Linked DNA regions of Homo sapiens: region 1 is linked to region 2. The links are contacts of gene promoters, found by promoter capture Hi-C in blood cells and fetal thymus (Javierre and others, 2016). All regions are on one chromosome and are shown on one strand. The core of a region is centred on a gene start or on the middle of the fragment in contact, and the rest is flanking DNA. Distances in the headings are between cores, read along the strand shown. Region 1 overlaps LOC105371348 (a long non-coding RNA gene). Region 2 holds the start of BCAR1 (BCAR1 scaffold protein, Cas family member).

Region 1 (6,285 bases), core at 1,698-4,197, 520 kb after region 2:
TCACGCCATTCTCCTGCCTCAGCCTCCTGAGTAGCTGGGACTACAGGTGCCCACCACCATGCCCAGCTAATTTTTTTGTATTTTTAGTAGAGACAGGGTTTCACCATGTTAGCCAGGAAGGTCTCGATCTCATGACATTGTGATCCACCCACCTCGGCCTCCCAAAGTGCTGGGATTACAGGCATGAGCCACCGCGCCCGGCTCTTACTTACATTTCTAAGGCAATTCAGTAAAGTTTGTATTCTTTGTCATGTATGGGCATTGATGCCACTACTCAGTTAGCTTAGTGGTTAGCTAGTAATTAGACAGGTTTCCTTAGAGGTCTGGAATCAATAAATCTTTCATTTGCTGAAGGGCTCTCTGTGCATGTTGGGTCATGTCCTCAAAACTTAGGCAGCTTGTAACTCCATCTAAGCCTTTTCTTACTGCCTACATAGATCCTCAAGGTAAGCAGAGATGAGAGCTGAGGGCCTTTCCAGGTCTTCCCTGAGCTTGTGTACTATCCTGGGAGTACACATGGTCATTTAGATCCCTGAGATTTTGTCAGAGCCTTCTGATGTCCTTCTAGACATCTTATTTTCAAACTTCTATTTTATTTTCAAGGTTTTTGGTTAGTCCTTTGTTTGCCTCAGCTGTTGTTAATCTCCTCAGGCAGCCACAAAGTTAAAACACTTGCCTGTAATTGTCTCCAAAAATAACATCACCTGACAGAAATCCTCTGAAGTGAGTGAGCTCCAAGGCAGCCTCTTAATGAGTTTTTCAAGAGAACCACCAGACAAATAAGAAATGATAATATTGGCTGGGTGCAGTGGCTCATGCCTGTGGTCCCAGCACTTTGGGAGGCCAAGGCAGGTGGATCACGAGGTCAGGGGATCGAGACCATCCTGGCTAACATGGTGAAACCCTGTCTCTACTAAAGGTACAAAAAGCTGGCTGGGTGTGCTGGCAGGCATCTGTAGTCCCAGTTGCTCGGGAGGCTGAGGCAGGAGAATGGCGTGAACCTGGGAGGCAGACCTTGCAGTGAGCCAAGATCGTGCCACTGCACTCCAGCCTGGGCGACAGAGCAAGACTGTGTCTCAATAAAAAAAAAAAAGAGATAATATTTTGGGAATTATACTTTGAAAGAGCTTCATCTCTATTCTGGTCCCACTGATGACTGCTAGGCAGCACCAGCAATGCAGATGAGTATTTTTCAAGGCTTTTTCTGAGCTAGAGAGTGGGGGGTGGGACCAGGGAAAGTTAAAATGTCACAAAGCTAACTTTTCTTACAGCCATCCAGCCATTTTTCTTGAGTAAACTCTCCCCAGGTCATGGGAAGCTTTTAATTCTTTTTTTTTTTTAAATTTCTACATCCACTTCAGTCACACAAAATCTTTTGATTCATTTCTGGAGATCTGAAAAAGGTAATTCTGACCATTTAAATAATTTTTTCATTGCTTTTATGGAAGGGTGAATTTTTGAGGGTCCCTGCTCTGCCATTTTTGCTGATGTTACCACCATCAAGATTTTCTTCAGCAGGGGTCTGCAAATCTTTCCTAGAAAGGTACCAATTGTAAATGCTTTAGGTATTGTGCTTCAGATTGTGTTTGTCACAGCTACTCAACACTGCCATTGTAGTACAAAAATAGCCATTGTAAGTATATAAATAAATGGCTGTGTTTCAATAAAACATTATGTATAGAAAAGTCACAGACTGGATTTGGCCCAAGGATCATATTTTGCCAACCCCTCTTTTTAAAGATAAAAAACAACCTTAGAATCCTTCTCAGACCACACTGCTCTTTAGTCATCTTCTTTCTGTTCTCACAGAGGTTGTTTTTCTTCCAACTGAGATACACTAAGATGTTTAAACATTTAAGACATATTTAATTCTGCATTTTTACTATAATTCAGAAAATTTGTTTTTGTTGCTTTCAATTTTTATTTACATTTCCCCCCTGAATTTACATTATTACTGCAACCAGAGAACCAAATCAAAATAAATTGATTCATTATCCTCCAGAATATGGGTTATGTATTAGATTCCAAAGGAAGTAAAACAAGTTTAAAATATACAAAGTTTCAATTAACTTTATTTTTGTAGAGTGTAGAACACTGTCTTACTTACATAAACTATCCAGTGGTTAAAAAAAGGTGCTGATCAGGAAATGGAGAGTGAATGGGAGCATTAATGGGAATATGTAGAAAGAAATCTTACACTAAATAAAATATCCAATAGAAGCTTTGATTGGAGACCACAAGAGGCCATATATCTTTTGAGTCAAAGAGAAAACTCTTGGGGTTAAAAAGAATACAGTTAATTTCTATATCACTGATATATAGTAGATTACCAAAAAAGGTAATGCAGAGTGAAAAATAAATTCTAATAGAATCCCAGTGAACTGTAAGGTAGGAGGTATCTTATCTCTAGGTAGGTAGCTGCTTACCAGGTATATTTTGATGACTACTAAGAAGAGCCTGTAGATGTCCTTCTACTTCAGCTCTTCCTGTGATTTCATAAATACTTATTTCACAGGCCTTTTCCTGATGAGTAAAATAATGCAATATATGTGTAATTTTTTGCTGTCTATGATCATCTTCTTCCTGATTCCTAGTTTGATTTAGACTTCCAAGAAGTTAGAATGTACAAGACATTGGGTCCCAGTAGAAAGAAAATGACAGATGTAAGTAATGGTGAAAAAAAGGGAAGTAAAATGACATTAGAGGAAGATAATCCCATATCACAATTTTGCCTGTGGTCCTTCTAGTAGTTGAATTTCTTTGTCTCTTAGGTTTGCATTTGCTATCCTTGTCACTATCTTCTTCTCCTTCTCCTCCTCTTCTTCTTCCTCCTCCTCTTCTTCTTCTTCTGAAAGAAAGAAAGAAAGAAACATGGCTATATAGTGTTGGAGCAGCCCTTCCACTGAAAACAACTATAAAAGAAGGAAGAACTATGAGTTTTTGATGGGATAGCAGAGCTACCAAAGCAGTAAAGATTTGATGAAACAAATTCCCAGAAAGAAGGTAATCCTAGGATTTGAGCTCAATATTTGGCATAACTTATATCTTCAACGCATTTGCTGATAGAGAAAGCAGGAGCTGGAGATTTCAGCTGAAAACCAGAGCAGAAAGCAGTAGCCAGCATCCGAGCAGAACATTTGCCAGTTTCACAAAACTGGAGAGATGAATATTGAAGATCACAGCTAGACAAAGACTACAAATAATGTAAAGTCTTTAATAGTCTTTAACAAACAATGTAAAGACTTTACAAATAATGTAAAATGTTCAAGAAATTAAATGATCAAATAGAACATTTAAACAGGAACTGGAATTTTTATTCCAGTAATTGGATTTTTTATTCAATCCAATAAAAAGGATTGAATACCAAGTCTAGAACTGAAATATGCAGTAACTGAATATTAAAAATTCAATGGATGAATTTAACAACAGATTAGATGTAGCTGAAATGAGAAAATTAGCAATTTGGAGGATAAATCTAAGAAATATACCAATAGAGAAAGGAAGAGGCAAAGTAATGGAAGATAAAAGACCAAAGAGAGAATGAAAGGTCTAACATATATGTTATTATAATCCTTGAAAAAGAGGAGAGAAACCATAAAAAAGAAAGAAATCTTGTATCTGAAAATCTACATGCTGCTACTATCAAGTTATTTGTTTGTAAGTGTATTACTCTTAAGCTTTAGAGCACTTTACACAAGTTTTATAATACCTTCCAATATTTAAATTTTTAGTATTTTAATGTTAAGTAGATTTTTGTCTTTAACCTATTCTAATTATTTATAGTAGATTAAAAATAATTGCATAATGAAAATATATTGTTTTACATTGAAAAGTCATGGATAATTAAAAAGAATTATAAATTAAACACTAAAATTATTAAAATGCAAAAGTTTCTTCCTTTTTAATTTTTTTTTCTGAGACAGGGTCTTATTCTGTTGCCCACGCTGGAGGAGTGCAGTGGTCCTATCATGGCTGACTACAGCCTTGACCTTCTGGGCTCAAGTGATCCTCCCATCTCAGCCTCTTGAGTAGCTGGAACCACTGGCACATGCCACCATGCCCAGCTAACATTTGTTTTTTTTCATACAGATGGGGTTTTGCTATGTTGTCCAGGCTGGTCTCAAACTCCTGAGCTCAATTGTCCCACCTTGGCCTTCCTAAGTACTGGGATTACAGGTGTGTGCCACCACACCCAGACATTTTTAAAAAATTAAATTAAATTTATTATTTTTTTTTGGTAGAGATGGGGTTCTCACTTTGTTGCCCAGGCTGGTTTTGAACTCCTGACCTCAAGTGATCCTCCTGCTTTGGCCTCCCAAAGTGTTGGAATTACAGGCATGAGCCACCAATCCAGGCCCAGGCAAAAGTTTCTAAATAAAATTTGGCTACATTTTATGTCTGAGTACGTAGAGTTTTGTTGCTGCTGTTGTCATCCATGGTGGGGGGTTAACAACTCACAAAAACTACTACTTATAAAATTATCAGCTATACAATTATTGGACAAAATATATTATTTCACTCTATACATAAACAATTCATTAGAACTTGAAGGAATTGTAGAATATGGAAGAGATGCTTCTGCTGAAATAAGGAGAATGTGAAATACCTCCTCATGGAATGCTGTCATTTTCACTTATCAGTTCCAAATATTAGGAAAGAAAACTCTGAGTAGATTATAGTCTGATACATAATGGCATAATGATAGCTGTTAAATAAAGAAACCACATGTAATTATCAAATTTTGCATGAGTCAGTTGCTTTTCAGTCTCACTAGAGCTGAAATAAAAGTATTTTAAGTCTCTTTCATTTCCCATTTTGACCCTGGGATGTACTCATTTGCCCGGCAAGAAAATTTCCCCTAAATGACTCTAAATGGAGAGATGAGGGACAAAGGGAAAGCAAATACAAAGATATATAACAAATAGCTTGGATTATACATGAAATAATTAACAAGCCAATGTTCCCCAGAACTGGCAATCCACTCACAGAACAAGAATTCACATGTGCATTTGACAAATAATACAACCAATTATGCGTAAGTCTGTGCTAGATCCATTTAGACTCACAGATACAGGCATTTAATGAAATGTGGAAGATATTAGTTGTAACTTCTATCCAAAGCCTAAATCCTGTGGAATATTCCAGGCCCATGGGTAATGGGAATCTACTTGAAAGCATCCAGTGATCAGAAACACACTAGCTCACTTTCAGATGGAGTTATTTTTGCAAAGTTAGAGATAGTGTAATAATACATGCCTCCCTGAAATTTTCAAATGTTGGTCTTTGTTTTCTTTCATGAAGCTATGCAAAAATTGTATAGTTCCTATTTAAAATAGCATACTTTCTGAGATCTGTAAACAGATATCATGATCTTAAGTCTTGCTTTCTCTAGGCCAAATATATTTGCTTTTAAAAATTAATATTCATATAATTCAGTTTTTGGGCAGTTCAATATCTGGCTAACTTTATCCTAGATTCATCCAAGTTTGTCAGCATCATTTGTAAAACAAAGTGCTGACATTTAAACACAATACTCTGTCCAGTTTTATTTCTCTTTCTCCAACTAGATGATAAGATCCTAAAGGAATTGGAGGAGAGGAGACTCCTTGTAATGAACAGAATTAATGAGAATCTGGAAGATCTTGGTAGTAAATTAATGAAGGTCTATGTATTTTTCTCTCAAAATGAAGAAATAAAAATATCAGAAATTTAAACAAAGAAACTGCTTACTTAGTTTATTATCAAAATAAGAATATAGTATAATGTGGCATAATTTTGAATAATCTATGGAGAGGAAGAGTAGAAGCTCCATTTGATTAGATTCTAAGAACGTTCCCCATCAAGGGAGTGTGTTGGACTTCTGAGAAGGAAATCTAATTATAGCACACTGTGGCTCTTGAGAAAATTATACTTACATAGTTATTTTTAAAATTAAGTATGTTTCTTGTGGTTTCAATGAGGTTGAAGTGATGTTTTTCAATCAAAACTAATTTTTTTACCTGTGTATAAGCAAACAAGATTCAATTATAGCTACTTAATGCAAATATCATTTACTGTGTTGATAGACAAGCAAAATTCTACTTGAGAGAAGCTGGGAGGTTGAGGAGGGAGTTGCTGAATTAAAGAAAACGATAGGGTTGTTAATATCTTAATTTTGCATAATGGGGAATAAAGATATATTGTCTGAAGTTAACAGAATAATGACTGTGAGGTATATCTTCTATTTATCAAACTGGTAAGGCAATAGTTATATAAATTTCTCAATCTATAAATAATATAATATAA
Region 2 (6,477 bases), core at 1,159-3,658:
GGTGTGAGGCTGACCCCTGACTTCAGGGACAGCACCAGGCCCAGAATAGGGGTAGCCCCCACCTCCAACCCCAACTGTGTCATCAAGGAGGCTAGACCCACCCCTCCACCCTACTTCTGCCCCAGGCTAGAATGTAGAGGTGGGAGGAAGTCAGGGAAGCAAGACACAGGTGGAGCCAGGGCCTCTCCTGTGCTCGGAGGGCCAGGAAGGGCCTGACAGAGGGCAGAGCCCCACCCTCTTACACGGAGACCACCCTGCAGCCCTTTATCTGGGGGCCAAGGAAGAGGCTTGCCCAGTGTCTTTGCTGGAGAAACTTCCCTATCACCCAATCCCACTCCCCACACTTCACCTCTGACTCCAAAACTGCCTCCTCTTAGAAGCCCCCCTGGAGCGCACCTCCCCTGCTGGTTGGTTCTAGCTGACCAGTTGGTTTAGCCGGCTGTGGGCTCCTGGGGGCAAGGGAAGGAGTTGTCCAGGCTCAGAAGAAAAGGGTGGTAGGACCTCCTAAAGGGACAGCAGATGCCAGGAGAGGGCCGCAAAGGCACAGCGTTGGAACCAGAGGGTTCCTACCAAGTTGACAACTCCAAAAGAGCATGGTGGTCCCCCAAGGACCAGAGCTCCCCCAATCCCAGACTGGGAATTCGGAGGCCACATGTGGTGCTGCACTGGGGGGCCATGCCAGAAGACGAGGTTCTGGATCCAATTCTGAGGACAACTGACTGTCTCTCTGTACCTCAGTGTCCCCATCTGCACCATCCGTATAATGGGAAAGGGGTTTGAGGAGCTGTCTCAGGGCCCCTCCTGTACAGACAGGAGGCCCTAGTGGCACTGTCCTTATTTCCATCCCTCGCCTAGACCTGGGGCCATGGTACCAGTACACAGTGCTCACCCTCCTGCTCAGACAAACAGTAACGGCCAGAAGCTCCAAGCCTCCTGCCCCAGCCCAAGGTGACTTTCCTGGCAGAACCTGGGACTGCCCTGCCCTGCCCTGCCTCCACCCAGCTCCCGGGCAAGCAGTGCCAGGAGGAAGTGTCAGCAGCTCCTCCCCAAAGCTCTTTTCCCCACAGCCCCGCCACCCCCGTACCTGGGCCCCGATTCTCCAGGCACCCCGACACCTGCTCTCACAGGCCGGCCAGCCCCCACCACCCAACTCTCCACCGAGGGAAAGGAATGGGCACAAGAGGGGGCGTGTCCCGGCCCAGGGCGATGGGAAACATCTCACTAGCAAAGAAGAGATCAACCCATGGTCATTCTGAGAAGGTGACCAAAGCTGCGGCGGGCCCCGGGAGGGGTGTGGGAAAGGAAACCAGGGACTCTCAGGAGGGAACGGGAGCCTTGTGGTAGAAAAGGAGCTGCTGTCCCCGATCTGGAACTCGAAACCCCAACATCTTCCAGGCCGTAAGCCCCTCACCCCGCACCCCTAGGCAAATCTCCGCTTTCCCAACTCCCTCACCTCGGTCCAGCGATCAGCCTCTCGGACCCTCGAGAGGGAGCTCCGACCCTGCTCTAGCTCTTGCGGGTCCCCCAACCATGGACTCCAAAGCCTTCATGTCCACACTGCAGAACCCGGCCCTGGCCCCCTCCCGCGACACTCGCGTGCGGCTAGGACTCCTGTGGCCAGGACCCGGCTTCCACCGGCGCTCGGCGTGCGGGGCTGCAAAGCCCGCGGCGCGCCCGCCCCCACTCCCGCTCCGCTCCCGGAACCCCGCGCCGGCGGCCGGAGTGAATCATTAACTGGAGCCGGGTGCTCCGGCTGCGCAGCCTTCCCCGCTGGCGCCACGCACTTGCCCGCCCGGCCTCGGTCCCCCGGAGCTCCTCCCTCTCCGGGAGCCGGTGGGCAGTCCCCACGCCACACCAGCCGGACCACCCGCCAGAGGCTCAACGGCCCCTCCTCGCAGCCGAGGAAACTGAGGCTCGGAGGCAGGGCGCAGAGGCCCAAGGTGACACAGCAGGCGGCCGTCGGCCGGGGAGCGCGGGCCCCGCCAGCCACTTTCCCGACACAGGAACCCTCCTACCGGCTGGCGGCCCCCGCGCCCGGCCCCGCCAACGCACCCGAGGCGCACAGGCTCCGGAGCCCCCGCGGTTCCTGCCTCCCGGCTTCCCGGCCAGGGCAGAAGGAGATCCCAGGGCCGCGGACCCCGGCCGGCGGTTCCCAGGCCCCGCAGGTCCGGCAGGAAATGCCGCTCGCTTAACCCCTTCCAGCCCGCTGCCGCCTCCAAGCCCGTACGCGGCCCGGCCCCACCTGGCGCCCTCACCAGGTGGTTCATGGTGTCCGGCGGGCCTGGGGCCCCGGCTCTCGCGGGGGCGCACACCGAGCTGCCCGGGCCGCGTGCCCTCGGGGCTCCGAGCGCGCCGCAGCCGCCCCGGTGCCGCCGCGCAGCTGCCGCCTCGGCCACCCAGAGCCGGTCCAGCCGCTCTCCGCCTGCCGCCACGGCCCAGCCGGCCCAGCCCGATCCCAGCATGCCCGGCCGCGCGCGCCCATTGGCCGCCGCCGCTCTCCATGCAAATAAGCCGCCTGTCGGGGGCGCGGGCGCGCAGACAGAAGCCCGCCCAGTAGGGGCCGCCCCCCGCCCCGCCCCCCACCTCCAACCCCGAGGCTCCAGGCCCCTGCCCGAGGCCAGGCTTCCAGCCTAGGGCGCAGGACACCGCTCTCCAACAAATGCACGTCCCCGCCTTCCACCCAGGCGAGAACGCACCGAAGGCCTACGCAAACTCCTCCACTTCTGGGAAGGCTGCCCGGTTTGCCTTCTTCCTCCAGAGCCGAGACATGGCCTCAAGTCGACTTGTCTTTCCCGCTAACCAACCCCAGGGCATTCATCGCGTGTCCATGGGCCGTGGGACTCAAATCTGAATCTAGAGGGAAAGGGGAGGGGGCGTGCCCCAGCCTGTAGGAGACGAATCATCACCACCACAGCTCCGACTGTAGACGGTCCCACCGTGTAAGGACCCCAGGAAATGAAGCCTCAAGCAGGGAGGCTGGCGAGCTCTCGACCCAGCGCTTTTCACGGGCAGCACCTACCTTCCCCTGCATTGTGCCGACATCTGGGGACTCGGGCTGGTCCTCCAGCTGATCTGCCTCCTCTCATTACTCATTCCTAGGTTCAGCCTAAAACCTGGGCCTAGTACCCTCCTGAGTCCTGCTCCAACTCATCTGCTTCAGCGACATGGGGTAGGAGAGCGGCACTGGGGGAATGAGGGAGATAGAAGGAAGAATCACTCGGGGGAAACCGAGTGGAGACAACCTTGGCTCTCCTGAGTTGCCCCTTGCTCGGTTGCAGGTCAGTGACTGTCACCCCATGCAGCAGAACCAGGGTGCCAGAGCCCCTGGGCCAGGCCAGGGAGGCACAATCTGCAGGGAGATGATAGGACCGAGCCTGGTCCAGACCAGACAGGACCCTCAGTCAACAATCCTGGGCCACTGGCTGAGCAATGGGATGCCACGAGGCAGCCCTGGTGGCAGGGAAGCAGCGGGGTAGACCCGGCTTCACGCAGCAGAGAATTCTCAAGCATGGCCTATGGAAGACACAAGCCCAGGTGGGCCTGCAGCTGCCCCTCTGTCTGACCCCCAGGGCTCAGCCTACGCAGCGCCTGGCCAGATGTGCCACCTTGGCAGGCCCTCTCCCCTCTCTGGGCTCCTTTCTCATCTGAAAAGGGGCTAGGACAGCCCATGATTTGCTGCTCAGGTGCTCTGGGGAGCTAGTTAAAAAACAGACTCCTGTGTCCCACCCCTCCCAAAAAACTGGACGTCTGCATTTCTTCAATATTTGGCTTGGGAAGCATTGGCCAGAACTCACAGCACAGCGGGTGAGGAAGGAGCAGTGGGATGAGACAGAGCATGACCCAGAGTCCTCAGGAGGAACAGAACAGCTAGCCAACACCCTGTGCCTCCCCGACACAGCCCGCCTCGCCTCAGAAGAGGAGCCAGCCTTCAGGGAAGCTGCCTGGAGCATCTCCTCCTGCTTGTTCCCAAGAGCTGTGCCGGGCCCCTCCTGCACCCTGACCCTGTCCAGCCACCCACTCCTCAGCCTGGCTGGCACACCAGCTTCCCAGAGAGCAGGTCTGAACCAGCGGGACCCTCAGGAGCCTGAGGTCATCCCTGGGCCTCCACTTCTGTGGGGAGGGGAGACCAGGCCTCATGGGCAGGCAGTGCCCTGCTGGCAGGGCCCCAGGCAGCAGTCTCTGCAGGGACGGGCAAGGACACAAAAGGCCTGGCCCTCAAGGGAGCTGGCCCCTGCTCCATCCTAGTTGGCCAAGGAGGGCGGTGCAGAGAGGAGGTGGATGGCTGGAACCTTGGGGGATGAGACCCTCCTCCCCCAGTAGCTGCATTAGAACAGCACTGGGGGTGGGGCTGCTGGTGTGAGCAGGAGGCAGCAAGGGAAACAGGCTCCGACACAGGCATTTCAAAAATTTGCTCCTTTTCCACTTAAATTCCCTCCCCCAAAAGCCTGTGCCTCCCAGAATGGCATTTCCGCTTTGGAAACAAGGCCCCAGAAGTTAAGCCCCACAGTGTTGATGGGGATGTAGCTGGGGGGTGGGGGAGGAGCACCCACTGGCCAGGCTCTGGCCGGGGTATATGGGGGCAGAACCTCACCCCACCCCCAGTCCAGCCTCCCGGACCTCCGCTGTCAAGGACAGGGATGCAGCCCCACATACCCAGCACAGCCTCTGCGCCCAGCCAGTGCCAGGGGCCCTATGCCCATGCATTTATTTTGTGCACACAGCAATCCTGCAAAACAGGCTCACCGTTAGCCCCAATTTTTTTTTTTTTTGAGATGGGGTTTCACCATATTGGTCAGGCTGGTCTCGAACTCCTGACCTCAAGTGATTCACCCACCTCAGCCTCCCAAAGTGCTGGGATTATAGGCGTGAGCCACTGCACCCAGCCTAGCCCCATTTTTCACATGAAGAGACCGAGACCCAGTTTACCAACCACTGCCCCATCCCACACATTTCGGGGCACAGAAGGGACAGGGCCAGGGAAGAAATGGGGCTGCTAGACCTCAGCCCACCCTGCAGCAGGAAGGGAATCTAGGGACAGGGACAGCAGCACTCCAGGCTCAGAAAGCCAAACACCCCTGTCACACTCAGACTGCAAAAGGACAGGCAACTGAGACCTAAGCACCTTCCTCCCCAGTAAAACTGAGCTCAGCACTGGGGCCAGCACCACCCCCACCCCACTAAGTTTAGCCCCATTGGTGAGAAGGGGTGCAGTAAACATTTGTTGACTGGGTGGGACCTCAGAGGTGGCCCTCATGGGATAGGCTGGCCTGGGTGAAGAAATCTGAGGCTGCCCCAGTCTGGAGGATGGGGGTGGTTAAGTCACGCCTAAGTGCAGAGGCACACACTTGCATACACACAGCACACACGCATGCGTATACACACAGTGGGACTGGCAGCAAGGAGAGACGCCCTGAATAAGGAGGAGCTGGGAGAGGTTGTTGCCAGACCAAGGGAGACAGCTGCAGATATGTGGCCGGGGCACCAGCACAGGGCCCTCCCAGACAGTTGTGTCATCCCAGGAGTGGCCTGGCACCTCCAGCCAGGTTGAAGATGAGCTCACAGGCTGGAAGGGATGTCTCCAACCCCTCAGGGCCTGGAATAGCTGTTTGTACAGAAAACAGGTGGACCCAGCACACCAGGACACTAAGTGTCTGGAGTGGAGGGGGTTATACTGGACCCAAGTGGAAAGATAAGCCTGGGATAGGGTTCCTGCTCTTTGGGCTTTCTGAGATCTGCCTTCAGGACAGACCCACTGCACAGAACTTTTCTTGCTCAATGCTCACCAATGTCCACTGCAGCATTTATGACAGCAAAGCATGGAGCAAAACAGGCTCACCTATCAATGCTAATTCTAGGGGACCGGTGAGACAAACCACAGCGCCTCAGTAGAATAGCTTGCAGCTATTAGATGGCCTCTTCCAAAGACTGAAATAATGCAAGAAAATGCTTACAACAAACTAAAGTGAAAAGAGCAGGCTAAAACCAGTTTGCACAGTGTAAAGGCACACAGCCCCCTCCCCTCCTGAAGCCTCGGCCTCCCAGCAGCAGGGAGGGTGGACTCGGTTGATGGCCAGCTCTGGGAGCGGCAGCAGGAGAGGATTTCCTGAGGCCGGAGGTGAGCACTGCCAGCCCCAGGAACAGGAAGAAACGGTATCTCTGGAGGGCCAATGAGAGCTGACACCATCCCCCTAGGCTGGACACTCACAGTGGCAAGCTCAAAACCAAGGCAAGGCTGGGCAAGGTGGCTCACGCCTGTAATCTCAGCACTTTAGGAGGTCGAGACTAGCCTGTCCAACATGGCGAAACTCCGTCTCTACTAAAAATACAAAAATTAGCTGGCCGTGGTGGCGGGCACCTGTAATCCCAGCTACTCAGGAGGCTGAGGCAGGATAATTGCTTGAACCAGGAGGTGAAGCAGTGAGCTGAGATCACGCCACTGTACTCCAGCCTGGGCGATAGAGCAAGGCTCCATCTCAA

What was found. The method cuts DNA at HindIII sites, captures the fragments that hold promoters and counts their contacts. A CHiCAGO score of 5 or more calls a contact.
Region 1: a fragment that was not itself captured here is called in contact with the fragment with the promoter of BCAR1 in region 2 in 2 of 17 cell types (total B cells and naive CD8 T cells); the score reaches 6.1 in total B cells.

Annotation. Positions count from the first base shown.
Region 1 is chr16:75,769,596-75,775,880 of GRCh38, forward strand. The region is part of intron 2 of LOC105371348 (a long non-coding RNA gene); the gene reads left to right. Among named protein-coding and RNA genes, the nearest start is that of CPHXL, 46 kb to the left of the region's middle. The HindIII fragment of the contact is 1,456 bases long and covers 2,220-3,675 here.
Region 2 is chr16:75,249,216-75,255,692 of GRCh38, forward strand. It overlaps BCAR1 (BCAR1 scaffold protein, Cas family member), which reads right to left and starts at 2,409. Exons shown (of 7, transcript NM_014567.5): 1 at 2,256-2,409. The coding sequence starts at 2,267. RefSeq lists silencers at 2,292-2,451, 2,512-2,621 and enhancers at 2,621-3,161, 3,702-4,242, 4,243-4,782, 4,783-5,323, 5,863-6,403 and 1 more. The HindIII fragment of the contact is 27,287 bases long and covers 1-6,477 here.